4 separate regions of the Homo sapiens genome follow, and all the other regions are linked to region 4. Evidence: promoter capture Hi-C in 16 types of primary human blood cells and fetal thymus (Javierre and others, 2016). All regions are on one chromosome and are shown on one strand. Each heading gives the region's core, a stretch centred on a gene start or on the middle of the fragment in contact. The rest is flanking DNA. Distances are from core to core; before and after follow the strand shown.

Evidence for each region. Contacts are between HindIII fragments. The CHiCAGO score rates a contact against its expected background, and 5 or more counts as called.
Region 1: a contact is called between a fragment that was not itself captured here and the fragment with the promoter of SLC12A5-AS1 in region 4, in 2 of 17 cell types (megakaryocytes and M2 macrophages). The highest score is 7.4, in megakaryocytes.
Region 2: a contact is called between the fragment with the promoter of CDH22 here and the fragment with the promoter of SLC12A5-AS1 in region 4, in 14 of 17 cell types (M2 macrophages, activated CD4 T cells, endothelial precursors and 11 more). The highest score is 10.5, in M2 macrophages.
Region 3: a contact is called between a fragment that was not itself captured here and the fragment with the promoter of SLC12A5-AS1 in region 4, in 2 of 17 cell types (endothelial precursors and M2 macrophages). The highest score is 6.3, in endothelial precursors.

The regions. Positions count from the first base shown.
Region 1 is chr20:46,287,075-46,293,499 of GRCh38, reverse strand. The region is part of intron 1 of CDH22 (cadherin 22); the gene reads left to right. Among named protein-coding and RNA genes, the nearest start is that of CDH22, 18 kb to the left of the region's middle. The HindIII fragment of the contact is 190 bases long and covers 3,295-3,484 here.
Region 2 is chr20:46,303,495-46,310,228 of GRCh38, reverse strand. It overlaps CDH22 (cadherin 22), which reads left to right and starts at 1,731. Exons shown (of 12, transcript NM_021248.3): 1 at 1,731-1,974. RefSeq lists a silencer at 6,622-6,734. The HindIII fragment of the contact is 22,305 bases long and covers 1-6,734 here.
Region 3 is chr20:46,324,741-46,331,249 of GRCh38, reverse strand. No RefSeq gene overlaps it. Among named protein-coding and RNA genes, the nearest start is that of CDH22, 19 kb to the right of the region's middle. The HindIII fragment of the contact is 8,908 bases long and covers 1-6,509 here.
Region 4 is chr20:46,019,734-46,026,605 of GRCh38, reverse strand. It overlaps SLC12A5-AS1 (SLC12A5 and MMP9 antisense RNA 1), which reads left to right and starts at 4,533. Exons shown (of 3, transcript NR_147699.1): 1 at 4,533-5,082; 2 at 6,758-6,872. It also overlaps a transcript of SLC12A5 not described here. RefSeq lists silencers at 4,483-4,842, 4,863-5,022. The HindIII fragment of the contact is 8,792 bases long and covers 2,521-6,872 here.

The DNA.
Region 1 (6,425 bases), core at 2,140-4,639, 270 kb before region 4:
GCCACCCCTATCTTGGGTCGGAGACTGCACATTCAGAAACATAAACATGAAAAACATAGGTTCCCTGCCTGATCCTCAGAAAGGCCTGGGATGGATTGAAAAATGGAAGAAGCAAGGCCTCTTCTACAAGCACATGTCTCCATGCACACACGGAGATGCAGGTCAGCACAGACAGCTCCCTGTAGCGGCAGCTTCATGGAGGATAAAAGCATTTTTTATAAAGTGTCTGGTTGCTGTCCAAGGTACTCTCTGAGTCCACAGAATGTGTGGGTGGCTGAGGCAACAGGCCATTGCTAGGACTGGGGATGGGGGCAGTCTTCAGACCAGATGACAGCAAGAGGTTGGCCTCCTTCCCTGGATTCTAGAGGGTTGTAACCACTAAGGGGTCTTGGCAGTCTCCTCCCCCAATTCATTCATTCTTACTTACTCAACATATACTGAGCATCTACTCTGTGCCAGGCACTGTGTGGACCACAAAAACATTAGGATTAGGAAGACCCAGGATCTGTCTGCAAGGACTCTTTCAGTCTAGTGGGGAAGACACACATACACACACACACACACACACACACACACACACACAACCAGTGGCTGGTGCTCTTCTAGAAGCACCAGAACAGAACAAAAGAGGGAGTGATTAACTCTGCCTGCAGGAATCAGAAAGACCCCCTGGAGCAAATGACTTGGGCTCAGTCTTAAAAAGATGAATAGTTCTCCAGGTGGATAATGGGCAGGAGAGCATTTCAGAGGGGCAGCATGAACCAACGCAGGGAAGAATTCACGGTTTAGATCACAATGAGAAGTTCTGTGTGACTGGAGTGTTGGCTGCTTGAAGGTGAATGGCAGATTGAGGAGAGTGGGTTCTGGAGAGGGGCAGTGACTTGCCCAAGATGCCACTTTGAGTTGCAGGCACAGCCAGGACTAAGACACCGGATACCCTAATTTGTCAGAAAATCAGAACATCAGAGTTAGTTGGGCGTTTGCGATTCTCTAATCCAAACTGCCCATTTTTCAGATGGGGAAACAGAGGGTGAGAGATGTTCAGTGCTGTGCCTGGAGTCCCACAGTATGGGTGTGGCAGAGCTAGGATTTGAAATCTGGTCTGTTTGACATCAAAGCCACAGCTGTTTTCCTAGTGCCACAGCTAGGAGCAGAGCGAACCCCACCTCAGCTCAGCTGGAGAGCAGAGGGCTCTGAAAAGGACGGGCTGCTCATGGGACCTTTGCATTTATTGGGACAGGCAGCCAGCTCCTGCCATATCGTTGGCACTCAACACTCACCCTGGGGGAGGGAGCCTCCAGTGGGAAAGCTCAGCAGGCATGCCTTCCTGTTGGCTGGAGAGACCTAAGTCCTACCACCAACTCTCTGAGTGACCTTGGGTAAGGTGTGACCCTCTCTGGTCCTTTCTTCCATGATCCACTATGTCATAGGAGGATCCTCCTTTGCCTACTGTCTGGAGCAGTCATTCTCCATTGGGGTGGGAGAGCAGTTGATTTTGGCCTCCAGGGAACATTTGGCATTGTCTAGAGGACAATTTTGGTTGTCACAACTGGGAATAAAGAGTGCTACTGGTATTCAATGGGTAGAGGCCAAGAATACGGCCAGCCATCCTACCCTGCACAGGACAGCCCCCACCAACAAAGGGTTATCCAGCCAAAATGTCACTGCTGCTGAGGCTGAGAAACCCTGAAGTCTGAGGCCATTTGTGAAGATCAGATATGGCCACAAGAGTGGGCACATGGGGCTGTGCAGAGGTGCACCCCAGGCTGCAACGCAGAGGAGCAGAAGTGGCCTTGCTGTCAGGCAGACCTGGCTGTGTTGAGAGGTCGTTCACCTCTCTGTGCCTTGGTTACTTCATCAGTGCAGCAGGGGCCGTAACAAGAGCACCTATCTCGGGAGACTATTGAGAGGGTGTGATGAGATCATGAATGTCGACGGCAGAGGAAGCAAATGGAAAACAGAAGCCTGGAGCCAGCTCTGGAGCCAGCAGGGCCGCTCAGGGCTATGGGATCTTATGCAACTTACCTGACCCCTTTGCCTCCATTTCCAATCTGTAAAACGGGGATTATGGTAGTACCCATCACACAGGCTCAATGGAGGATTAAAAATGAGTTAACAGATGTAAAGCATTTAGAGCGACACAGAGTAAGTGCGATGCAAGTGTTAGCTATTATTATTTGGTTTTGTTTGTTTTTTGTTTTATTTATTTATTTATTTATTTTTGAGATGGAATCTCGCTCTGTCTCCCAGGCTGGAGTGCAGTGGCGCGATCTCTGCTCACTGCAACCTCTGCCTCCCAGGTTCAAGTGATTCCCCTACCTCAGCCTCCTGAGTAGCTGGGATTACAGGCACATGCCACCACATCCAGCTAATTTTTGTATTTTTAGTAGAGACAGGGTTTCGCCATGTTGGCCAGGCTGGTCTCGAACTCCTGACCTCAGGTGATCCACCTGCCTCTCTTCCCACAGTGCTGGGATTACAGGAGTGAGCCACCATGCCCAGCCAGCTGTTATTATTTGAATTCTGTCTTGAACAAGGCAGTCACATAAGTTGCAGAGGGTGCATTGGACACCAGGCCCTCCAGATGCCAACTCTCTCTGCAGCTCTCTGACTATCCATGCCACACCCCCAGCCTTCCTTCCAAACACACCCCCCATAGACCCTGCTTGGGCTCTCTGCAACTCTGCAAAACTATTACTCTCTCTCTCTCTTTCACCAGCTCCCACCCTGCTTGTCTCTAGCTTCGTGAATTCCCTGACACATTGGGCTGGCCCTCTCCTCCTTCTCCCTCCCCATCTCCACCCTAACCCCCTTCCTCTCCCTTAGAGTCTGCCAGAGCCAGAGTTAGCTGTCAGCAGCTCCATCCAGGAGGAGGGGGACACAAGGGTGCCCACACCTGACTCTATAGCTCAGGCCCGCATCGCACTAGCCCTCCCCCTAAACACTCATATCCTGACTCCTGGCCCACTTGGATTAGCCTTGGCTAACCCTTCAGAGAATGAATAAATCCTCCAGTGCTGGGTTTCTCAACCTCAGCTCTATTGACATTTGGGGCTGGATAATTCTTTGTCGTGGAGGGCTGTCCCGGGCATTGTAGAATGTTTAGCAGCATTCCTGGCCTCTACCCACTAGATGCCAGCAGCACCCTCCCACCCAGTTGTGACAACCAGAAACATCTCTAGTCATTGCTAAATGTCCCCTGGGTGGCAAAATTGCCCCTGGTGGAGAAAAACTGTTCAAGAACTTGACTATATATTGTGAGCTTCTGTCTCATAGTGTCCTGGCAAAGAAGCTTTGAAAATCTAATAAATATCCTCAAGTTGAGCCCCTCAAGTTGATGCCACCTTCAACTTTGTACAGTTTTCTCACCAAAGTTTTCATTTCTTGACCCATTCTCAAAACCAGTTGACCACAAACATTAGGCCCAGCTCCCAAACACTCAGCTCTAACTAGAATTCTGAATATTAACTTTAAATCCAAAGCTTCAACCTGTTTTCCAAACTCCAAACCTTAATTCAGACCCTAACCCTAAACTCTTGGCCTGTTCTAAAACTTTAGTTTCCTGAACTTCCAACAGAATTCTAAATCCACAGGTTAGCCTCAAACATGAAGCCAAGTTGGAAACCTGCACTTCCAGATCCTTCCATCACCAGCTCCTAAATTTTAATCTCTATCCCTTCTGGCCTCTAGAGATTCCTTGGCTCATGTTTCTAGCTTCCTCCCCTCCCAGGTGACCCCAGGTCCTTCAGAAATGGCAGGAAAATTTCCAGTAGGCAGCTCTGTCTAGCCATAATCCCTCCCTCATATCGCCCCAGGCAATCCATCTGGAAATTCTATTATTATTCATTTGTTTATTCAAACATTTGATGAGCACCCACTCTGCAGACTCTGTGTTGGACACCAGGAAAGCAGTGGAGAATCGGATCCAGTGGCTTCCCGCTGTCTGCTGGGGGAGACAGACAAGCAGACAAACAGGAAGACAGATAGATAAAAACTATGCGAGTCATTCAAGAAATATCCACTGAGCACCTATTATGTGCCATGCGCTGTTCTAAATGCTGGGAATACAGCATCAAGCAAAAAAGACAACACCCCTAAAATCATGGCACTCACATTATAGAGAAAGGAGGCATCCATTTATAATATATCAGATAGTGATAAGTGTTATGGAGAAGGTGAAGAAAGCAGGATGAGGGGATATGAATGGCCTGGGGAACTGAGGAGCTAGTTTATCACAGGTTGTAAGGGAAAGGTGCATGGGGTCAGCCATTTGAGCAGACCCTCGAAGGAAGGGAGAGAGTGAGCCAGGCAGACATCAGGGGCGAGGGTGTTCCAGGCAAGAGGACCAGCAAGTGCAAAGGCCCAAAGGTGGGATCATACCTGGTCTATTCAGAGAAGAGCCAGAGGGCCAGTGTGGCTGAAATAGAGGGAGAGGGGAGTAGGAAAAGGTCAGAGAAGTAACAAGAAGCCAATTCTTGTTGGATCTTATGAGCCATTTTACTCCGAGTAAGACAAGAAGCCAAAAGAATTTTGAGAGAAGGAGTGTTACGGCCTGATTTATGTTTTAACACCATAACTGAGAACAGTCTGCAGGGGGCCAGGGCAGAAGCAGGGATACCAGTTAGGAGGCTGTTGCAATCATCCAGGTGAGAGATGATGGTGGCCGGACCAGGCTGCTAACAATGAAGGTGGCAAGATCGGCCAGATTCTGGATCTATTTTAAGGTAGAGCTGGCAAGATTTGCTGATGGATTGGATGTGGGGTGTGAAGTCAAGACTGACTTCAAGGCTTTTGGCGGAAGCAGCTGGAAGCATGGAGTTGCCAGTTACCGAACTGGGGAATGCTGGAAGAGGAGCAGTTTTTGAATTTATGTTCTCATTATTTGTGTGTGGTTGGGGGTAGGACTCAGGAGTCCGGGTTCAGACATGAGGGTTTTGAAGGGCGTTTTAGATATCTGCACTGAACAGGCAAGAGGCTCTATGTGTTGGGTTTTGGGCAGACATCTGAGTTGGACACACATATTTGGGTGTCATCAGCAAATCCATGGGGTTTCAAGCTGCGGGGTTACATGTGGTCATCTGAGGAGGAGTGGCCCAGGGACTACCCTCTGGGGCCTTCGAAAACTTGGAGGGAAATGAGATGGAAACAGCAGAGGAAACTGAAGGAGCCAAGAGCTCTATGAGGTACAGGGTGCTGGGAGAGGTGTGGACACATAGGGGAGAGAGACCAAATCTGGGGTACCAGGGAGGGATTCATATATTGGAGGGGATATTGGAGCCTGGCTTTGAGTGATTCATACAAAATCCCCCATCAGACAAGATTGGGGAAGGACATTCTCCCTGGAACAGTACATGCAAGGGCTCACAGGCCTCCACACATTGGGGAATGTTAAGCTACATAAATGGTTCCTTATCCTCCAAACTTGCTACTTCCCTCTCTTCCCCAAATCTGTGAATGGGGCCACCTCAAGGTCTTACCGAACAGGTCCTCATCTTGCAGCTCCCCGTAGCATTCCTACTATATCCCGAGGATTCTGCCTTCCGTATGTCTCTAGAAATAGCCCACTCCTCTCCAACCTCACTGCCCCCACCTACTTCAAGCCACCATTATTGTTCACCTGGACAACATCCTCCTCTCCCATGTCCGTGTTTCATTCTCAGCCACCTGATGGGGGACCCCAGCAGGTGAAGGGGCGGGGGCCAGTCTGCTTCACACCCACAGTAGCCTGGGTGAGTTCCAAACAGAATAAGATTCATGCCAATCCTCTGCTTCGGAAGCTTTCAATAGCTTCCCATTGCTCTTAGAATGAAATCTAAAATTTAACAAGGCCCACGAGATCCTGCACGGTGTGGCCTCCTGCCTGCTTCTCCTGTCTCATCTCGGCCTTCTTCCCCATTGCTCCTGACGTGCCAACCTCCCCGCTGCCTTTCAGGTTCTCAGCTTGGCAAAATCCATCCAGCCTCAGGGCCTCTACCCAGGCTGTTCCCTCCACCTGGCTGCCCTCGCCCTCGCCACCCCCACACTCCAGTCTGAGAACAAATCACTTTCTCAGGGACCCCTTCCCAAGAGCCCCAGACTAGTCCGAGCTCCCTGTCAGATGCTCTCCTTGTACCTTTCTTTTATAGTCATCATCGCATGTTTTAATGAAGTCGTGAGTTAATAATGATAATAACAGCTAACACTTACGGAGTACTTCTTACTCCATAGTAAATGATCAGAGGAATATTGAGTGATTCACATATCTTTTTAGCTATTTAAGTCCTGACACCACCGTGTGAGGTAGCTACTGTTATTATTCCCATTCTACAGAGGAGGAAACTGAGGCCCAGAAGAGGTTATTCATGCAAGGTTACACAGATGATAAAGAGCTAAACTGACACAGACCTAACGTCTGTCTTTTCTGCTTGATATTAAATTCCATGGGA
Region 2 (6,734 bases), core at 482-2,981, 290 kb before region 4:
AGCAACAGTGTCCCAGACCAAAACAACCTGTGGACAACTAAGTAGGTCTGACTCCAGAGATGAACAGCACACACCAGAGCCTGGAGGAAGAGGCAAAGAAGGAATGGGAACTGGAGCAAACAGCAAAAGTGAGTCAGAGCGGGAGGAGAGAACCAAAAGTGAAGAGATGCACCTGGAAGGCTGGCCTCTGGTCTCTGAAAGCATGAAAGAGTGGAGGCTAAGAATAGAGAGGAGAGGGGAAGAGAGAGATGGAGAAAAGGAAGGCGATAGAAAGGCAAGGCTGGAAGAGATCAATGAAGGGAAATAAACCAAGAGAAGGACGTAGGGGAGGGAACAGACTGGCACAGTGGAGAATACATCTCAAAATAAATAAATGAATGATGGAGTTTAGTAGGAGGGGCCAGAGGGGCAGCCAGCAGGAGAGGTGATTCCAATCATCAGCAAGACGGACTAGGGTGTGGAGATGGAGATGGAAATTGGGGAAGGAGGCGAGGAGGAGAGAAGGATAGGGGCGAGGTAGAGCTGGGGGTCCTGGAGGGCCCTGCCCCCTCTTTGCCATGAACTTCAGCAGCTGCTTGTGGGTGATTAAATGGCTGGTCATTGGCAGCTTGGCGGGACAGAGGTCTGCAGCTGTCCAGTCTCCTGTTATCCTTCACTCACCTATCTGGAAGCCATGGGGAATAGGGGGGCGGGCAACTCCTAAGGGGACCTACAACCCAAGACAAAGGGTGGGTCTATGGGAGTCACTGGTCCTATCCTACCATCAACGACCTCATATTGGGAACTCAGGAGTGGGGTGGGAGGGTCTCCTCCATTAGGCCTCATCCCAGAGAGATGAAGTAGTAAGGAGAGCCAGGCAGCCAGGAGAAAGAAACAGGGCCAGGTGGAAAAAACATCAGGGAGCAGACCAGCCGGATTTTTAAAAGAACGGAAAACCCAACCAGCAAGGAGTTTCTGGGCAGTGGGAAGATTTTATTGGGAGACTTCTCCAGGTCAAGGTGGCACCAAGTTAAGGATGGAGGTGTCTTGTTTTGCCTGCTTACTTTGTTGGTTGCAAGGATGTCCAGCGGGACTCTCCAGAGGAAAAGCCCACAAGTTTCTCTCCCGGGGACACCCGACCTCCCACCTGCCTGGAGACTCAGCCCTGGGCACCTGGTCGGTGTCCACCTCAATGCACAGTGACTGTTTCTGAACTGGCAGATCTGGTCTGTGCAAGGTGCCTTTCTGGGCAGCAAGCCGGGGCGGCCACTGTTCGAGAAGCCTGCTCCTACCCTGGCCTGCGCCCCTGCTCCTCTGAAGGCGGCCTCCCGCAGTAGTCAGGGGGCGGAAATGGGAAGCCCTATTCGCAGTAAAATCAGGTGGGGAAATAGGCTCTGGTCTCAAACTGCGGCCACCTGGGGAGCTGCCAGGCGAGGAGGTAGATGGTCCCCCTCCTGGGGGCGCTCCCTTCGCGCGGATCTGGGGTTGGAGGAGGGAGGGGCACTGTCCCCTGGGGGGTTTCCTGGGACTGGGCCGCCCGAGAGAGGGAAAGGCTGTCCCCTCCTGGTGTAGGAGGGGCGCGATCCGGGGGGCGGGGGCTGGGGTTCCCCGGCTGCGGGGGTCCGGGCCGGCGGCCGCCTGCGGCTTGGCGCTGCGCGGCTCCTGCCCGGCGGGCCCTGCATTCTCCGAGTCTCCACCAGAGGCTGCGGGAGGAAGGAAGGGATCCGTCCCTTGCACACTTCCCCCCAGTCAGACACGCACACTCCCTCGCTCCCGCTCGCTCGCTCACTCCCTCGCTCTCTCGCTCTCTCGCTCTCTCGCTCACACACACGCGCGCACACGCCGCCGCGGCTCCCCCTCTCGCTCCCGCTCTCCCTCCGGCTCCTGCGGGCGGCCGCGGGGCTCCGGACTCGCCCGCTGCCCGCGCCGGGGCTCCCGCCCCACGCAGCGTCCCGAGGCGGCAGGACTAGGGGGAGCCCCGGGCCGCTCCCCGAGGTAAGAGCGCGGGGTGCCGCGGGAGGAGCGGCCGGATCGCCGCCGAGGGGAGGCTGCCCGGCAGGGAGGGAGCCCCCTGGCCGGCGGGAGCGGCCGGGCAGGCGGCGCGGGGGGCGAGCCTCCAGCCGCAGGAGGAGCCGGGGTGCCTGCGCCCGGCCCTGCGCGCCCCCTCCTCTCGGCCGGGAGGGCGGGGAGGGAGTTTCCCACGTCCAAACTTTCCCCGGCGCGGAGCCGAGCCGCCTCTCGGCCCGAAGCCCGCAGCTCCCACCCGTCCCCACAACCTCGTCCGCCGCGCGCCCGGGAGCCTCCGGGACCCCCGCGGGCCGAGGGGTGGCAGCGCCAGGGGCCGAGCCGGCGCGCCAAAAGGGGCTGGGAAGGTGGCGCACAGCCCTGACGCGAGGGCTGGGACCCAGGCGTTCCCGGTCCCCCAACCCTGCTAGCGGGGCTCGGCTCCCCGGCCCCTCCCAGAGGCGGGGTCCGGGGCCGGGAAAATACCGCACGGCGCGAGCGTGTGCGCGCGGTGTGTGTGTGCGAGGTCGTGCCGCGTCCGGGGACACCCGGAGGCTGACTCCAGCCGCGGCGACACGCACGGTTCTGGTCCCCTCTGAGCCGGGGAGGCGGCCCACAGGGACCCCTGCCGGCCCCACCGGCGCGACCCCCCCTGCCCTATGGCCGTCGGGCGGGCTGGCGGTGAGCGAGAGCCAGCGCTGCTCTCTTCCTTAGGACCCGACTCCGGAGACACCGTCCCCGCTGGGGAAGAAGGACGGGGCCCCCGACAGCCTAACGTCCAAAGAGAGCGCCACTTAGGGCTAACCCTCGGGGGCCGCGGCGTTTACTGTGAAGAGTGGACTGCGTGGGCGCGCGGGGTGCCGGGCAGCCCTGGGTGGGCACAGTGTGGACCCGTCTCGCTCGCGCCTCCCCGCTGCCTCTTCTCTGGCAACGTCGGGCCCTGTCCCAGGCGGGGCTGCAGAGGGTAGGGCTGATCCAGGATCCCCCGAGGTCTCCCCGAGGTGCAGGGCACCCCCTTGTGGCGGGCAGAGAAGCTGCTGTTTGAAGCTGCTCAGGTCTTCCGAGGTGCTCGCTCCTTGGAACCTCTTCTCTCCAAACCCTTCGGGCGTCGCCAGGGTTGCGCATGCCAGCTTCTTTTTCCGTGGGGCTGATTCCAGCACTCCCCAGGTTTCTGGGGCTGGCCGAGGTGCCCCCAGCACAGGCAGCGGCTCATTTGAGGGCTTTGGCTGTTGCCAGCTCTCTCTCCCTCTCCACCCAGGTTCAGGATCTCATCCTCTTCTCCCACTGGTCAGCGCCAATACCCTATATCAGCATCACCACTGCCCTAGGGCCCAAAGGCTCCTCCCTAACCACCGCGACTCTCTGTCCTTCATTTGTATCCCGTATATGTGTCCATCAGTGCCCACTCCGTCCCCCTCAGTTGCCCCTAGTCTACAGCCCTTGTTGAAACTTGGCCTCTACACCCATAGTGACATCCTTTGGTCTTTGCCCACCAATGACCATTTCCTCGTCCCCCCCAACCCCGACCCATCTTCTATCCTGTCTGCCTCAGTTTTTCTGTAGCACTCAACTGTTCCCTGCCCCAGCCATTTCTCTACTTCACCCTTATTTCCCTCCTTGTCCCAGTGTCTGGGACACTCCTCTTCCATTCCTCCTGGAAGGGAAGGGCATTGCCAACATTTAAACACTGCTTCCTGGAGATGTCTGTGTGCCCTTCCCGGTCCACCACTGCCAGTGCCTCGGGGGCAGGTACTTTATAAAGCCAGCCAGGTCTCTCTCAGCTAAGGGGCACCTGTACCTCTTGGGTGGCCCCATCAGGGGACCCCTGGAGACAACCCCTTTCCCTATTCCTAACTGTGAGCAGCACATTGGAGACCACCTGGGCTGCCCTCTTTTCCATTTTCAAGGATTGGCAACAGCAGCCCGAGGTCACATGGTAAGCTATACCCAGAGCCGGAATAGGAACCCAGGCATCTTGACATCCAGGCCTCACCAACGCTGCTTATGTGTTGGGTAGGCCTGGGGCAAAACAGAGCCGTTTCTTGGCTTCACGCTGCAGGCAGGACAAGAAGACACTTGCTCTAAATTCAGCATGAGGTGTTCAAGTTAGACCCCCAGTGCTCCCAGGCCAGTGCCGGAGGAAAGCTGTTGAATGCCTTTAGCAGAGACGCCGAGTAGCAGAAGCAGAGGACAAAGTTTGGCCCCTAAAAGTGTGTTGTGACCTCCGGGTGAGTCACAGCCTTTCTGTCAAAAGGGTGGCTGTGATCTCTGGATGTTTCTGGTCGTGCTCTGGAATAATCATACCTAGAGGTTGGAACCCCCAAAGCCCCTGCTGCTTCCCCAGGCACTGGTCTTTCTGAGAGCTTTGCAGGAGCGCTGCATTCTGAAGTTGTCTGACAGGGGGCCGGGCCATAGCTAAGGCAGGGAGCCCAGGAGGGCCCGTCTCCTCCCGAGTTGGCAAAGTTCGGAGCAGCCAGTTTATTTACCACATGGGCGATAAGAGTCAGCCAATTAAACTTCCTCTCCTCTCTCTCTCTGTTCTTCCCCCTCCCCTTTTTCTTCCATCAGGAAGCTCCAATCTGAAATGCAGCCTCAGGTAGAGTGAGAGAGAGTGAATGATTTCTGTTTATATAACACGGGTAGCAGCTGGCACTGCATGGCCTGGGAGGGAGTGAGGGAATAGAAGACCCTACGGTGGTGTCTGGGCTGAGGCCCCGGGGCCAAGGACTTCCTCATTCCTCCCCATAGCTGAGCCAGGAAGGGTGCTAGGGGCTGGGGACCAGGTGGGGAAACAGGCTGAGAGGAAACCCAGGCCTCAGGTCAGGCTCAGAGAGAAAAGCCTCATGCCCCCCGCAAGAGTGGGCACACCCTCCACCCCGGGTTCCTCAAAGCACCTTTAAGATGGAGCTCTCAACTCAGGCCTCTCCTTCCTACAACCTTGTGTTTTGATTCTGGCCTCTCTAGAGAAAGCCTAGATATTTCACCACGAGGACAGGCTCTGACCTCAACTTTTCATCAGGGCAGTGGGCATGATAGGACTGTCTTTCCGCCCATGGAGGAGACAAGGCCTAACAAGAAAGTTGTCTGTGGAGTGATTTGAGCTCTGTGTATCTGGCAGGAGGGACGTTTTCTCATTGTTGATGATACACAGTGGCTGCTTGGAAACAGAGGTGCAGGACAGGAAGGCTGGAGGCATGGCTGTTATATGCAGTTGGGCAGGTTGTTGACTGTCCAAGGGCATTTAATGCAGGAGGAGAGCGGGGACTGAAATCTATTTTAAGCTCCACTCTCCAAGTCAGGTGCCCCAAAGACAGGCTGTGCCTGCCTGGAGGAGGGGGCATCTTTCTCTAATTTGCAAAAAGGCTTCATATACTTACCAGCCATGGGCCTATGGGGCTGCTTACCCCCAGAAAAGGATCCCTTTCTTTAATTACTCCAAAGGTGGCCCATCTGGGGGTTAAGGATATATTCACTACTCACTCCTTAGCTCAGCTCTCTTACAATGGGCACACACCTTTCCGAATATGTGGGTCTGATTTCAAACACATGAGGTACAGCAACCTGGAGGAATTCCCTTCTTCCCCCACATTTCCCTCCATGCCCCATCAGCAGGCTCCTTCCTGCTGTCACATTGGGATTAGGCTGGGAACTTCTTGCTTTGTCGTCAGACCCACAAGCCTTCAGCCATCCACTTGTTACCAGCTCTTTCCTGTGCATAATATAAATAGATGATTAAGCGCGTAGGCATTGGAGTCCAACCAGCCTGAGTTTGTGACTTGCTGGCAAGTTACTTTACCTCTCTGAGCCTTAGTTTCTTCCTCTGTGAAATGGAGGAAAATGTAATACCTGTCTCATTGGGTTGTGAAGATCAAATGTGCATGAGCATGTATGGTGCTGAGCACAATGCCTGGCACATAGGACACCCCATACATAAAGCAGTATTGTTATTGCTCATATCCCTCCATTTATATTCCTTGGTTCCCATGGGGTAAATGCAGCAGTTCCTCCTTGTTTGGTTTTGCACATGATCTCAGCTGCCTGCACCCCTGCAGGAGGGGAATTGAGTTAGGACCACCAGGATCTGTCTCTGACTTCAGGATCCGTCTCTGACTTCAGGATCCTTCTTCCTTTGCCTTGAGGAAGGTGGAGTCCCTGCATGCAGCCGGCAGTGTGGGAACATGTTCTAGAGTCCCACAGATTCATTTCATCCTAATCTCTACCTTTTCTCCCCTCTCATCCATCTCGCGATCCCTTCTCCAGCTCAGACCTCACTGGTTCATGCCTAACCTGTTGTGGCAGCCTCCTCCCTGGTCTCCCAGCCTCTGATACCCTCCCGCTGCAACCCCTGCGGCAACCAGAGCGATCGTTCTCTAACGCAGGTGGGATCGTGTCACTGGCTTGATTAAAACCCTTCCATGGCTCCCCATTGCCTACTGAATTAAGTCCAGACTCGGCACTATGACATTCAAGGTCCTTGTAATCCGTCTGCATCCTCCTTTATCTCCCACTGTGCCTCCAATCTGACACTCCTGCATCCAGCCCCACCTGCCCTTCCACCTGAACAACCTTCCCCGAAGATATTCCAAAGCATTAAGGACCCAACCCAAATAGCACCTCTTCCTTGCATCACCCATCTGCCTGTCTGACCATACATTCATTATCCAGTTTAAAATGTATATATATATATTTACATATAAAGCATTTACATATATTTACATATAAAGCATTACTATGTGTTAAGCATTGTGCTG
Region 3 (6,509 bases), core at 1,600-4,099, 310 kb before region 4:
TCACCTCACACTTCAGCCCTGCACACATCAACTTGCGCTTCTCTCTACACGCACTTGCTGTGTAGCTTCGGGCAAATCACTGAACCACTTTGAGCCTCACTTTCCCCATCTGTAAAATGGGAGTGATCCCTACTTCTCTCAAGGGCAGATGTATGGCTCAAATTAGATCACAGCTGTGCATGTCCATCTGAATTTAGAACAGTCCGAGGGATTATTCATCGGGTTTGACGGCTTCTCCTGGGCTTGTAGATTTCGGCATGGGTCTTTGTCCCGGCCACACAGATGCTGCTCAGCATGGTTCATTTGGAGCAGACATGGCCCCTTCCATAGTGGACAGGGATCCCTTCCAGCCTCTGGCCACAGGCAGATGAAGGGAGCTGCTGCATGCAAAGGCAGGAGGGTGTGGATTAGGAGCCATCACGGGAAATGGCTTTCTTATCACGACACAACCGGTATTGCCAGGGCCAACTCTGGAAATTGAATTGCTCCCCCACTCCATGCCCCCTCAATACCTCTTCCCTCTGCTTCCTGCTCCCTCCCTAGCCCCATCCCCCATGACAGGGAGAGACCCAGAGACAGCGATGCAGGACAGAGCAAGTAGAGGGGGCAGTGGGGGTGCTCAGAGACTGAGGCAGAGATTGGGGCACCAGGAGGCAAGGGCAGGTTTGGCAAAATGCCAAAGGCAGGGCAGGGATGGGGCCACAGAGGGGGCCACTCAGGAATTCAGTAGACAGGGGGTGCCACCCTCCCCGTGGAATTCCCCACCACCCCACACCCGCCAGGCCAGAGCTTTGGCCAGCCAGGTTGGTGTCATCTCCTCTCTGTTGGCCCCTCTCCAGCTCCCACCTTGGCGCCTCTGCAGGGCCCGGGAAGGACCCTGATGGCCAGGGCAGAACCCTGGGCTGGCGCCCACGGGTGCTTGGATGTAGTCCCAGTGAGTTCCTGGCAGAGCCAGTCTGCAGGTGGTGGGGAGCAGGCCCAGTGGCCGGGGGCAGCCAGCTGTGTAATCAGGCGGGTTCTCACCACAGCCAGCCCAAGGGAGGAGGCGCACAGGGAGGGGCAGAGGGGGGGCCCAGCCCACCTGCCTCCAGCTCCCCTGGCAGCCCAACCTAGAGTCTCTCGGGGTAAACTCAGAGTCCAGGAGGCTCAGGAGGAGCTGCCGGAGGCTGTGCGGAGGCCTAGGACCCCATGAGTAGACCTCCAGCCAGCCCAGCCCCCAGGCCAGATGCAAAATCAGGAGCTAAAGGGTGCTGCCTCCCAGCCTGGCATGGTCCTGCCTCCCCTTCCCAACCCAGCATCTTGGTGTATAGCCTAAAAGTCTCAGACCCTCTCATGAACTGACCCCTGCCGTCAGCCTTTAGACTCTCAGCCCAGAAGTAGCCCCTTCCCTTAGACCCCTCTCTTCTCAGCCCCAGCTCACCCATCTCCCACCATGTGCCCATCCATGACTAGCCTGGTGCTCAGGAGCCGCAGCAGCCAGGGAGCCCGGCATGGGGGCACTGCAGCCCCAGGACCACGTGGCTTCTTCTCTACTCAGCCCACCCTGCCCAAACACATAAACTCTCTCTCTCTCTCTCTCACTCATTCACAATGTATTGCTGAATCTCAAGTTCATATGTTATGAGCTCCAGGGACCTCTTAATTCAACCTCCATTTACAGGTGGGGAAACCGAAGCCCAAGACAGAATGGACTTGTCCAAAGTCACCTGACAAGGGAATCCCTCTAAGCCCCAGCCAGCCCTTCCCTCCAAGGGTGCCCTCCCCTGGGAGTCCCCCTCTGGCCTCAGGACTCTCTCTGCCCAGACTTTGTGGGTTCTCCTGGCCTCTGCACTCACCTGCACCTCCCAGACCTGGCCAATTGCAGGGCCCCAAAGTTAATAAATCAAGGTGACTTTGGGGACAAGATTCAGCCTCTTTCTCCCTTGTCCCTCCCATTTGCATAATCCTGGCTGGCAATATGATAATGATGTTTGTTAAAGACAGAGCACAATAAATTAATACCGTTAAGTTGTTGCTGCAAAATGCAAAGCAGGTAATTTACTGCCAGCGAGGAACGGAGCCTTTAAACTGTAATGGATTAACTTTCCCAGCAGCAAATATGTCCCCCGAGGGAGGGAGGCAGGTGGGTGGGCTGGGTTGATGATAGGGGGGCCTGCCTGCTTCCCAGGGTTGGGCCAAGTGTCCAAGCCAAGATCTTAGGCCTGCACCTATGTCAGCCCCTCTCCATTGTACATAAGGGGAAACTGAGTCTTGTGCAAGACAGGGAGCTATGGAAGGCCACAGCAGGGCTGTGGTGGTGACCTGCCGGCTTTGTATGACAGCCCATTACCCTCTAGAGGAGGGGGCTGCAGATGCCTCATTTGCACACCTACTCTGGAACGCTCAGGAGGAGCTCCTGTTACAGACCCTGAACCTCCTCTTCCTTGAGGGGGACTAGTGATGTCCTCCCCAGAATCCCCCAGGCCCAAGAGAGGCCTCAGCTGCAGAGTCAGTCCTAGCCCAAGGAGGGAAGGATCCTGGGTTTTGTTAGGACTGAGAGGAGGGGAGTGGGAAGGGGAAGCGGGGGCGTGCCAAGAATGGGGTTAGACCTTGCCCTGATGCCCTCGGATACTGGGAGGGAGGGGCTGTGGAAGGAGGAGAGGAATGGGTCTCTCGAGAGGAAAGGTGAATTCTATGGTTGACGGGGAGGGGAGTGGGATGGCGGCAGCGGGGAAGGTGGGTGGGCAATGGGAGGCTGGGAGTAGGAGCGGCTGGCAGGCCTAAGGAGAAACTCAGGCACTGGCCCAGGGCCCCTCAGGGGCACCTCCTCCACTGGGGCTCAGACAGCTCCTTGGGTCCCTAGGAGAATTGCCGCAGCCCCAGCCCAGGGCGGGCCGGCAGGCGGGTCTCAGGGACCCCAGCGGAATTCTAATTTCTCATTTATCTCTGCAGCTTCTCCTGCGATATTAAAGGGGCGATGCTCTGCAGTTGGCTCCCAGGCTAATTGGATTTGGGCCTCCTCTCACTCCCTGGTGAGGGAGGGGGATGTGGCAGCCTTGATGGGGGAGGGGATGTTTGAGGACTTGGGCTGAGGCTGTGGTCCAAGGCCAGACTCCTAGGCTACAGTCCTGACCATCATGTGGCCTTCCCAAGCCTCTGCCCCTCTCCGGGCCCCGCATTCCCTCACCTGAGATGATGATAATGATATTAATAATATTAGTAATAAAAACAACAACCATGATTTGCATAGCATTTCCTAGACATAGACACTGTTCTTAGTGCTATTCAGGACAGCACTCCTCACCCCCTCATCCTAACAACAGCCCAGTGCATTAAGTATGATTACGTTCATTGCACAGACGAGTAAACTGAGGCATGGAGGGGTTAAGTAAGTTGCTCAGAGTCCAGACAGCACCCACAGTGAATGTCTTTCAGGTTTGTGAGGGGCCTAGAATCCCAACTTTAAAAACCCCGTTACGCTCAAATAGGCCTAAGGTGGGGGTGTTACTGCCTGCACCCATTTCACCGATGGGGAAACTGAGGTCTGACCCAGACATATTTTTAGCTTTAATTTTCTGTAGCTCCCACCAAGGGCTCCCTTCCTTCTCCTCCACCCCAGGGCCCAGGGTGTTTCCAGGGTAGAAGGCTGGGGCTTCAGAGGGCGCATTCAGTGCAAGTGTCTGAGGTGGGGCAGGGGAACTTGCTCCCAACACCTGCCTTTCCTCCATCGGCCCTGCCTTTCTCCTTCTCTGAGCGGAGGCCTCTGTCCCAGCATCCTCCAGGCCTGCTGGGGTCCCTTGTCCCACACTGCTCACCTGGAGGGAGGACCTCACCTCCTTAGCACAAATTAATTCCCACATGTGCCCCAGATGCAAACCACACAGCTCTGCAAGTCCACAGTGGAATAATGGAGAGGGGAGGAGGCCGTACATGGAAGCCTGTTTCCCAGTGACCCTAGAGACCGGCCCTTTACGCATGTTGCCTCATGTCATCTTCATGATAGACATGGCTCCAATGCCCATTTTACAAAGAAACAGAGGCTCCCGTGGAATGTTTCAGGCCAGGCCACACGGCAAGGACCTGATTGAGCTGAGATTCAAACCCAGGTTTATCTTGATCCAGAACCTGAGCTCTGGATACATCCTCCTGTGCAAGAGAGAAGTTGAGACTCCTTTGGAAGTTCAGTATCAGAGGGCCTGGAACTGGAACCCAGGATGACTACAGTGGAAGGAGCCCTGCACTGGGAACCGGTAGACCTGGGTTTCGATGTCTACCTGGCCCCAAACTCACTGTGTAGTCCTGGGTGAGTCACTTGGCTTCTCTGAGCTCAAAGGCAAAATGCAGAAACCACCGTGCCTACCTTATGGGGCTATTGTAAGTATTACAGGAAGTACAAGTAAAGCACTTATCACAGTGCCTGACACGTAATAGGTACTCAACCCAGGCTAGCCATCATTCTGTGGATGTATTCATGCTCACCTCCCAAGACTGCTGGGATAGCACCCGGGCAGAGCTTTGTTCTGTGTCATGGTCTCAGAGATTGCCAGAGCTAGAAGCATTGAGCACAATACCCTTGTCTTTCAAATGGGGAAACTGAGGCAAAGGGTTTCAACAAGTGAGTGGCAGGGCAAGGACTCAGCTCCAAGTGCCCTGGTGGCCTCCCTGCTCAGCAAAGATGACAGTTCTCCTTCCAGTCTCCTTTTGCCCTGGGTGTCTGCATCTGTCTGTCCAGGCGTCCCTCCCTGAGAGGCCAGCTGGATGGCTGACCCCTGCAGCTCTTTCCAGTCCAGCCGCTGGCAGGAACCAGCCAGAATAAATGCAAAGAGACCCCCTCTGGAGGCTGTTCTTGCCGTGTCCCCCGTCCAAATGTTAATTTTGCCAGGGCCTTGATAAATCTTCCTGTCGTCTCCATCCGCTGGAGACATAGATTTCATCTTATTGAAAGGTGACACTACTGCCCTTTGGTACCAGCTATCAATTTCAGGTGGCAATCAGAGTGGAGAGCAACAAAGAATCAGGCCCCATTAACTCCCCTTCTGCCACCGAATCCTACCTTTAAATCTTTTGGGGCCATCCTACTTGAGATGTCTGCTTCACCTGCCCTTCCAAAAAGGTGTCAGGACCTCATCTTTAGCCTTTCAGGGCATGCCTGGTTGAGTTCCTTTCTCAGGCCTCCAGAGCCACTTTGCTTCCCAGTGGGCAGACTGAAAGAGTCAGGAAATTAATGTCCAGCTCTTAACTGATGACTATTTGAAGCCAGAGTATAAGTACCCCAGCTCCTCCCTCACCCTTTGCTGGGGAATGGGAGTGGATTGCTCTGTGATGTGAGTCCTATTCTCCCTCCCAGAATTCCCCAGCAGAGTTGAGCTCCAGTTGCCCACAGTAGTAACAGGCTTGATAAAGCACCCGGTATTGGTTGCCTGCCTTTCCTGTATCACTTTCCCACTGTCCTACTGGTGCTTCCTGGGATCATTTCCCAAATAAATTACTTGCCCTTGAATCCATTTCTCAGGGTCTACTCTGGAACCCAAACTGTGGGAACACTGAAGATTTTTTAGCATCTCAAGATGGAATGCACTCCACTCAGCAGTGGAGATACAAGAGGCCTGACGTGTATTGATTGCCCACGACATGGCAGGAATCATGTGTTTTGGCTGCTAGATCAGTTTTTCATTCATGCTGCCAGACAGCTCTGGGAGGACTTGCCCCAGTTTTACAGATGAAGAAACATGCTCAGAGAGGTGAAGCGACTTACCCAAGGCCACACAGCCAGCAAACAAAAGTCAATATCCAAACCCAGGGAGCACACTGTCTTATCCACTCCATTCTACCACCTCTAGACAGGGGCATGAAATGGAGCCAGGGCTCACTTCCAGGTACAATCAGCAGTGCAGATGGGTAAATTTCTCCTGAGGGCATACTATGAGGCAGGCAGCCTTCTGCAAGGTGCTAAGGACAGCGCAATGAAAAGACGCAGTTCCTGTTCTCAAAGGGGCTGGAAGTGGTGGGGGAGATAGACCTGTGAAAGACTGTATGGCTGGGACCTCTCTCAGAGTGCACTGCAGCCTCTTCCCTGCAAAATCCCATCTTACAATCATGGGACATTCCTGCAGGGGGCAGCTGAGAGGTTGTCTATTTCAACACATTATTATATGGAGGCCACCGAGGTCTCAAGAGAGGCATTCACCCACAGTTGTACTCCATGGCCAGGGCTCTTGTGTTTGAACTCAGCTGAGGATTTCTGCAACAGAGCCACAGGTTTCCTCAGGCTCACAAGCAATTCTGAAAACTCAGAAGTCTCTAAATTAAAACAAAAAACAAACAAACAAAAAAACACCTTGCAACATAAAACATTTAAACTTCTATATGCCCTAAGGAAAACTTAATAATTATACAGACTTAAAATATTTGCATATCACAGGTAAAGGGTTAATACCCTTAATATACAAAGAGCTTTTGCCAATCAATAAGAGAAAAACAACCAGAAAAATGGACAAAAGATAGCAGCAGAAGATGCCTGTGTAAGGCGT
Region 4 (6,872 bases), core at 3,284-5,783:
CCTTCCTAAGGAGCCCCGACCAAGTGAGCAGACAGTCCCAAGGGGGGACCCCAGCCCCTCCACTGACACCCCTCACCTCTCAGGAAGACTGTGCCCTATTCTGGCCTCCAGCCAACTCTCTGTGGTGAGGTTCAGAGAAAACACATGGCAGGCACCCACCACACTGCCAGCCTGGCACTGGCCAGTAAAAAGTGACCCACAGCTCAGAGCCCCAGGAACCTGGCTGCCAGTACAGCATCCCCTCCCCACCAAGAACCCTGGGGAGATCTGGGGCCAGAGAAACCCTCTCACTAAAGCAGCACAAGATGCAGGGCTAGGGAGGGTCCTATTTCTAAACTCTGAGTCTCTCAAACTCATACCCCCTCCCACCATATGTCTCAGAGAGAAAAAAGCTCAGAGAAGCTGCCTCCTGAGTGTCAGGATTTGGGAACTGGAAGAGATATTATAAATTATTTTCCACTCTCCACTTATTGTGAAATTGGAGTCTGAAAATGGAAAGGTTCATATTTTCTTCATGGGGTGAACTTGTAACAGACTAGGGACTAGAACCCAGCCCCTTGACCTCCTGTCCGGGACTCCATCCACTGAACCAGGACAAGGGGCTGGTTGGAGGAAGCTAGAGCCACCGGACTGGGTCCTCTTTTCACAGGAGGCAGGCATAGCATTCCTCCTTATGGCTCAATCCCTCTCCCTCCGCATCTCCACTGCATTACCCCCACAACCTAACCCACCCACCGCTGGCTGTGGCCTTATGGGCCCAGGGTCCTGAATGCCCTCCTTCACTCTTCTTCTTCCCCACCCGCATGCCCCATCCTCGGACCCAAAACTGTAGCAGTGAATTGATGAGTCCAGCGCAAAGCACGCCCCACACACACAGGGCTCACTGCGGAGCACGTCAACCACCACTGTCTCCGTGGCAACCGGGGGTTTAATTAACAGGCTGCAGCCCCATCACCATAGCAACAGCACCCCAACAGCCCCTCATTCCTCTGCAGACTCAGTCCATCTTCCCTCTTTCCCAATCCGGACCCCTTTCTCACTGCACTCACCCCCCGATCCCCACCCCACCTGGAGAACTGAGGCCTAAAGATCGCTCTGGTTCATTGAGAAAAGGGGAGGGGAGAGGAGGGGGATGAGAGAGAAAGAGAGAGCAGCCTGTCACCATGGCAACTGCAGCCCCGTTCATAACCAGTTTGTTGCCATGGAGATTCCTAGGGCTCACCTTGGGCTGAGGTACCGGGCAGTGAGGTTCTGAGTTCTGGCTTGGGGATGAGATGACTGGAGATCTCCTTAGACAGACTGGAAATCTCCAGATCCAACATATATACCAATAACAGCATTATTCTTCCCAATTTACAGATGGAGAGACTGAAACATGAGGTTTGTGTCTAGAGAAGGCAGACAGCTTCATCCTTCCAAATCATCACAAAATCTTAGCATTTTTATGGTTAGAAGGACCCTTAGATAGCTTCCTGTTCAACTCCTTTATACTACAGATGGGTATATTAAGGCCCAGAGAGGGGAAGAAGTGTGCCCAAGGTCACACCACAGAGCCTGAGCTAGAACACAGATGGGCTACATTGTGGTCTTGCTCCATCCTCCCAGCATAAGTTAGCTCCCTCTCCCTCCATGGGGACACATCCCAACTCCTGTTAGTCCTACCAGGCCCAGGGCTCTTTTCAGGGCCCTGACTCCCCCCTGAGAAATGGAGGCATAGTAGAGGATCAGATAAAGGAATAGGGGAGCATCTCAGAGTTGTAACAACTGTCACCAGGTCTACTTCTGTTCATCCAAGTCACCATCAATCTCCCATGACACAGGTGAAGCAAGTGAGGTGTGTGGCCCGCAATCCAGGGTTAGTGGCAGATTTGAGGCTTGGCCTTGCCTTGCTTCTTTAACTCCCTGTAAGTCATGTTCTCACCTATGGCTCATCCTCTGGCAGCAGAAAGCCCCCCAAGTGGCAAACCCCACTCATTTGGCCCAGAGTAAAAGATAATACACACCCACACCATCTCCCCCAACCTTTCCCAGTCTTAGACATGCTGCTATCCCTCCCTTTGGGTGAAGACAAGAGGTGGAAAGAGAATCTATCAGGGGCTAGAGGGCTGACACAAGAACAGCTATGGGAAAGATACCAGCAGATGCTGGGTTCCCCTAAGTAGCCCTTGTCTACTTCCCCATACAGTGATCTGCCAGAGAGGAGGTGCTTGAGACTGCTTCAGGCTTAAAAGGTTAAAAGTCACCCAAATCATTGTCCAGATGGAACTTCCAATACACTCCTGCACACAGGTACCCACCCCTCAGATAGACACAGAAATGTACACATCAGCACACCCTTCAACGTGCTGGCAATATAGTGACACACAGAAGCACTGAGTGAGTCACTGACCACCCCACAGGTCATCAAAACTAATGGGGGATGCTCCTCCCACAAGACACACACACACACACACACACACACACAGCCTCTGCCACAGCACACAGCATTCCAGGCTCATACACACCTGCACACCCAAAGCTTGGGGGCTGTGTTTCACTTCGACCCCAGCGAAGTAGTGTGAGTACCGGCATCTGAGAGTGTGAATGGGAAAACAGCAATCACCTTGGGACATGAGAGAGGGCCGTCTTATTCCTAAGCCAGGGGATGAGGAGCGAGAGAAGAGAAGGCAAGGGTAGAGAAGCAGGATCCCACAGCCACCCTCCTCTCATCTTATGAGCATTACACACCTACTAAGTGCCAGGCTCTGGGTCTGGAACTCAGAACACAAAGATAAAGGAGATGGTCCCTGTCCTTGAGATGTTCCAATGGAGGATACCCATAAGTAAAGAAAACGACTGCCATCCACCGGGACATGTGCACTAAGGGTGCAGTGGGTGGGCCGAAGAGGAAACTGAAAAGGTTTTTGGAAAAGGTTAAATGAGCTATAACTTACAGAACGAATAGGAGTTTTCCTGGCTGATGGAGGTGGGAGAATGAATGTGGACAAGAACACCAGAAGCAAATGAGGAAAGAGAATGACAGACTTAAGGCTTTGGCCTTTATTTTGCAAGTGATGGGGGGCTTCTGTGGAGGAGGGCTAGGGAAGGACTGGAGGCAGGGAGGCCAGTGGAGAGGATGTGGTCGTGGCCATGTGAGGCTTGGAGCAGGGCGATGATGACAGAGGGGGGACCGATGCTGCCAGATTCAGGATAAGTTTCAGAGGTGAATGGCCAAGACGTGGGGATCAGTTGGATTTGCTGGAAAGAAAAAAGGAAGGGTTGAGAATGGCTCCAGAATTTCTTACTTTCAAATCTGGGAGGCTGGTAAGGTCATTCATGAAAATGAGAAAAGAGATTATGAGAAAGATGAAGAGTGGAAGGAGCCCAAGAAATCCAAGTGGCCACAACCAGGAGGCGTTCGGTTCCCGGGACTGGGGCCATTCGGAATTCCAGGCCTCAATTTGGTCATCTGTACAATGAGGAGGTCCGCCAGATAACCCCCTAAGGGTTACTCTAGGGGTTTCGGCGCTTGGGTTTGCTTCGGGGCGAGCTCACCTGCGGCTCGGCAGCGACCCCTGGCGGTCTGGGGAGGCTTCTCCTCCTCCTTCTCCTCCTCCTCCTCTTCCTCCTCCTCTTCCTCCTCCTCCTCTTCCTCCTCCTCCTCCTCCTCCTCCTCCTCCTCCCCTCGCTGGGGCCACTACAAGCCGATTCGCCTTGTTCCTTCCAGACCCGAGGGCCTCAGAGCCAGGGAGAGGACCCCTGATGAGTGCCCCCTGAGGGGAGACTGTGCACGCGCCCAGGATGCTACTTCTCCACCGAAGGCCAGAAGGATCTTTCCCCTCCCCTATACTCTGTGCCCTGCGTGTAACTTCCATTACAAGACCCTGCACAGGGCCCGCGAGGAAGACGCCCCCAACCCCGCCTGAGCTGGCTCCTCCCAACCCTTACGGAGCTCGAGCAGACAAGGAGCTAAGTGGGTCCCCAAGAGTCGGGATCAGCGACCCTACGGCATCCTCCCTGAATCTCGCTGCCCAGGATCCATACTAACTTCCCTGCCTCCCGTCTCCTTCCCGGGATCCCCAGTCGCTGTCCGCTAAGCCTCCAGGGAGCTAGAGGATTGGAGGATCCGCCAGGCACCGAGGACCCGCTGACCTGGCACCTGCCTCGGCAACCCTGACTCAGTTTTCCTCCCGCCCTCGACCCCACCCCCCTCCCAGGCCCCACTCCCATCCTCCTGGCCCAACTCATTCCCTACTAGTCCCGCCCTTTCCTGACCCCAAACCAACCTAGTCCCGCCGCCTCCCCTTTAGGGGCTCCTGACCATCCCCCTTCAACACACAGCCCCCTTTTTCCCTAGTTCCACCTCCTCACTCTGGTCCCGCTCCCTACTCGAGATGTCCCCGCCCCTTTAGTGCCCTACGGCCTACTCTCCACCTTGACCCCGGCCTTTCCATCACCAGACCCGCCCCCTTCGCCTCCGTCCAAACCCCTTCCCTGGCCCCACCCCTTTCCCTCGTGGCCACGCCCACCTCGCGTTTGGCCCCTCCCCCTCCACACTTTGCGTTCCGCGGCCCCGGCCCCTTGGTTTCCTAGTCCTGGCTCCATTCCCCTCTCAGGCCTAGGGCTGGGACCCCTCCCCGCCCCCGGTCTTGGCCCTGCCCCCTTCAACAGACGGTCCGCCCCGGCCCCTCCCCCTCGTCCCGCCCGGCCCTGGCAGGCCCCGCCCCCTGCGGCCTCTACCTTTGACGTCTTCCCCCGGGAGGTGGCGGGGGTCTGCGACCGAATGCCGGCGGGACTCTGGGTCAGGGCTTCTGGCGGGCCCTGCGGGGGGCAGCGAGGTGACCGTGAACCTGCGGCTCATGGCGCGGAAAGGAGCCAGGCGGCCGCGGCAAGGTCCGGGATCGCACAAGTGGCTGCAACCAGGCTCTAGGAGGGAGAAAGAGCGGATCCCCCAACCCCCTCCGCCCGCCCGCCCCCCGCGAGACGCGGCGCCGCGCAGGGTCCTAGTGCCCGCTGTGCGAAGGGTTCCTGAATCTGGCCACTTCGCTGGGAGGCCCTGGGCTCCCCAGTGCCACCCGAAGGGCCTGAGGAGGCCATCTGCAGGTGAGAGTCGTCCCTACAACGGGGGCACCTCTGTTAGGGTCTCCTAAACACCTGGGGCTCATTCATTCATTCATTCATTCATTCGGCACATGTCGATAGCGCTCCTGTGTTTCGGTCAATGGTGCGAGGGATACGTCGGTGGATGAGATCCACTGGCTTCTTGCCCTCAAGTGGCTTAAATTCTAATAAGGAGAAAAAGATTATAAGTGAGCAAATGCATAGATGAGATCATTTGAGATTGGATGTATGTTTAAAACTAGGGCCATGGGATAATGGGTAAGAGGGAGGACTACTTTAGGGGTGGCCTGAGAAGGCCTCCTAGAAGATGTGGTATTTGAGCTGAGACCTCACTGATGAGAAGGGCCAGCTATGCAAAGATCTAGGGGGAAGAGTTCTCTAGAAGAAGAAACAGCAAATGCAGAGCCTTGGAGTGAGAAGGAGTCCCGACTGTCCAAGAAACAGCAAGGCCATTGTGTCTGGAAGAGAGTGAGTGGAGAAGAGAGTGACTGGAGATGAGGGAGGAGAGAAGGGCAGATCATGTGGTCTTCTGAAGGCTTTGGGGAGGATCCTGGATTTTTTGAGCAGGGGAATGATGTGATCCAATTTATAATTTAACAGGATCATTCTGGCTGCTGGGCGAAGGTTCAACTAAAGAATGGCAAGAGTAGAAGCTGGAAATCTAATTAGGAGGCTCCTGCAGACCCCAAGCTGGGGGGTGATGACAGCCAGACTAGAGTGGTGGCAGTTGTCTGATTCCAGTTAGGTTTTGAAAGTGAAACCATCAGGACCCACTGATGGATCGGATGTGACACGTGACCATAAGAGTGAAGTCAAGGAGAAATCCTGGCAATTCACACACTGCTGGTGGGAGTGTAGTTAGGCAAAAACTACTTTGGGAAACTATTTGGAAACATCTACTGAAGGTGAACGTACACATATCCTTCAACCCAGCAGTTTTTCTCCTAGGTATATACCCGAAAGAAATGACTACTTGTGATCACCAAAAGACATTTACCATGAATGTTCATAGGGGCATTGTTCATAATAGCCCCAAATTGGAATCTACCAAATGCTTGTCAACAGTAAAATAGAGAAATAAGTCGTAGTACCTTCACACAATGGAATACCATCTACAATTCTCAGAACAATATGGATGAATCTCACAAATAGAACCTTGATAAAAAAGAGTCCAGACACAAAAGAATACATACCCTATAACACTATTTAAATACAGTAAAAAATAGTCAAAGTCTATCTAAGCTGTTAGAAGTAATGATAGTGGCACTGGGCGCGGTGGCTCACACCTGTAATCCCAGCACTTTGGGAGGCCAAGGCTGGTGGATCATGAGGTCACGAGTTCAAGACCAGCCTGGCCAAGATGGTGAAACCCCATCTCTACTAAAAATACAAAAATTAACCATGTGTAGTGGTGGGTGCCTGTAATCCTAGGTATTTGGGAGACTGAGGCAGAGAATTGCTTGAACCTGGGAGGCGGAGGTTGCAGTGAGCAGAGATCATGCGACTGCACTCCAGCCTGGGTGACAGAAAAAAAAAAAAGTAATGATAGTGGTACCCCTTGGGGAGAAGAGGTAGTGATTGCAAGCAGGCTTCTAGGGTGCTGATAATGTTTTGTTTCTTTCTTTTTTTTTTTTTTTTTTTTTGTCTCTTGAGACAGAATCTCACTCTGTCGCCCAGGCCAGAGTACAGTGTCATGATCTTGGCTCACTGCAACCTCCACCTCCCAGTTCAAGAAATTCTCCTACCTCAGCCTCCCAAGTAGCTGGGATTAC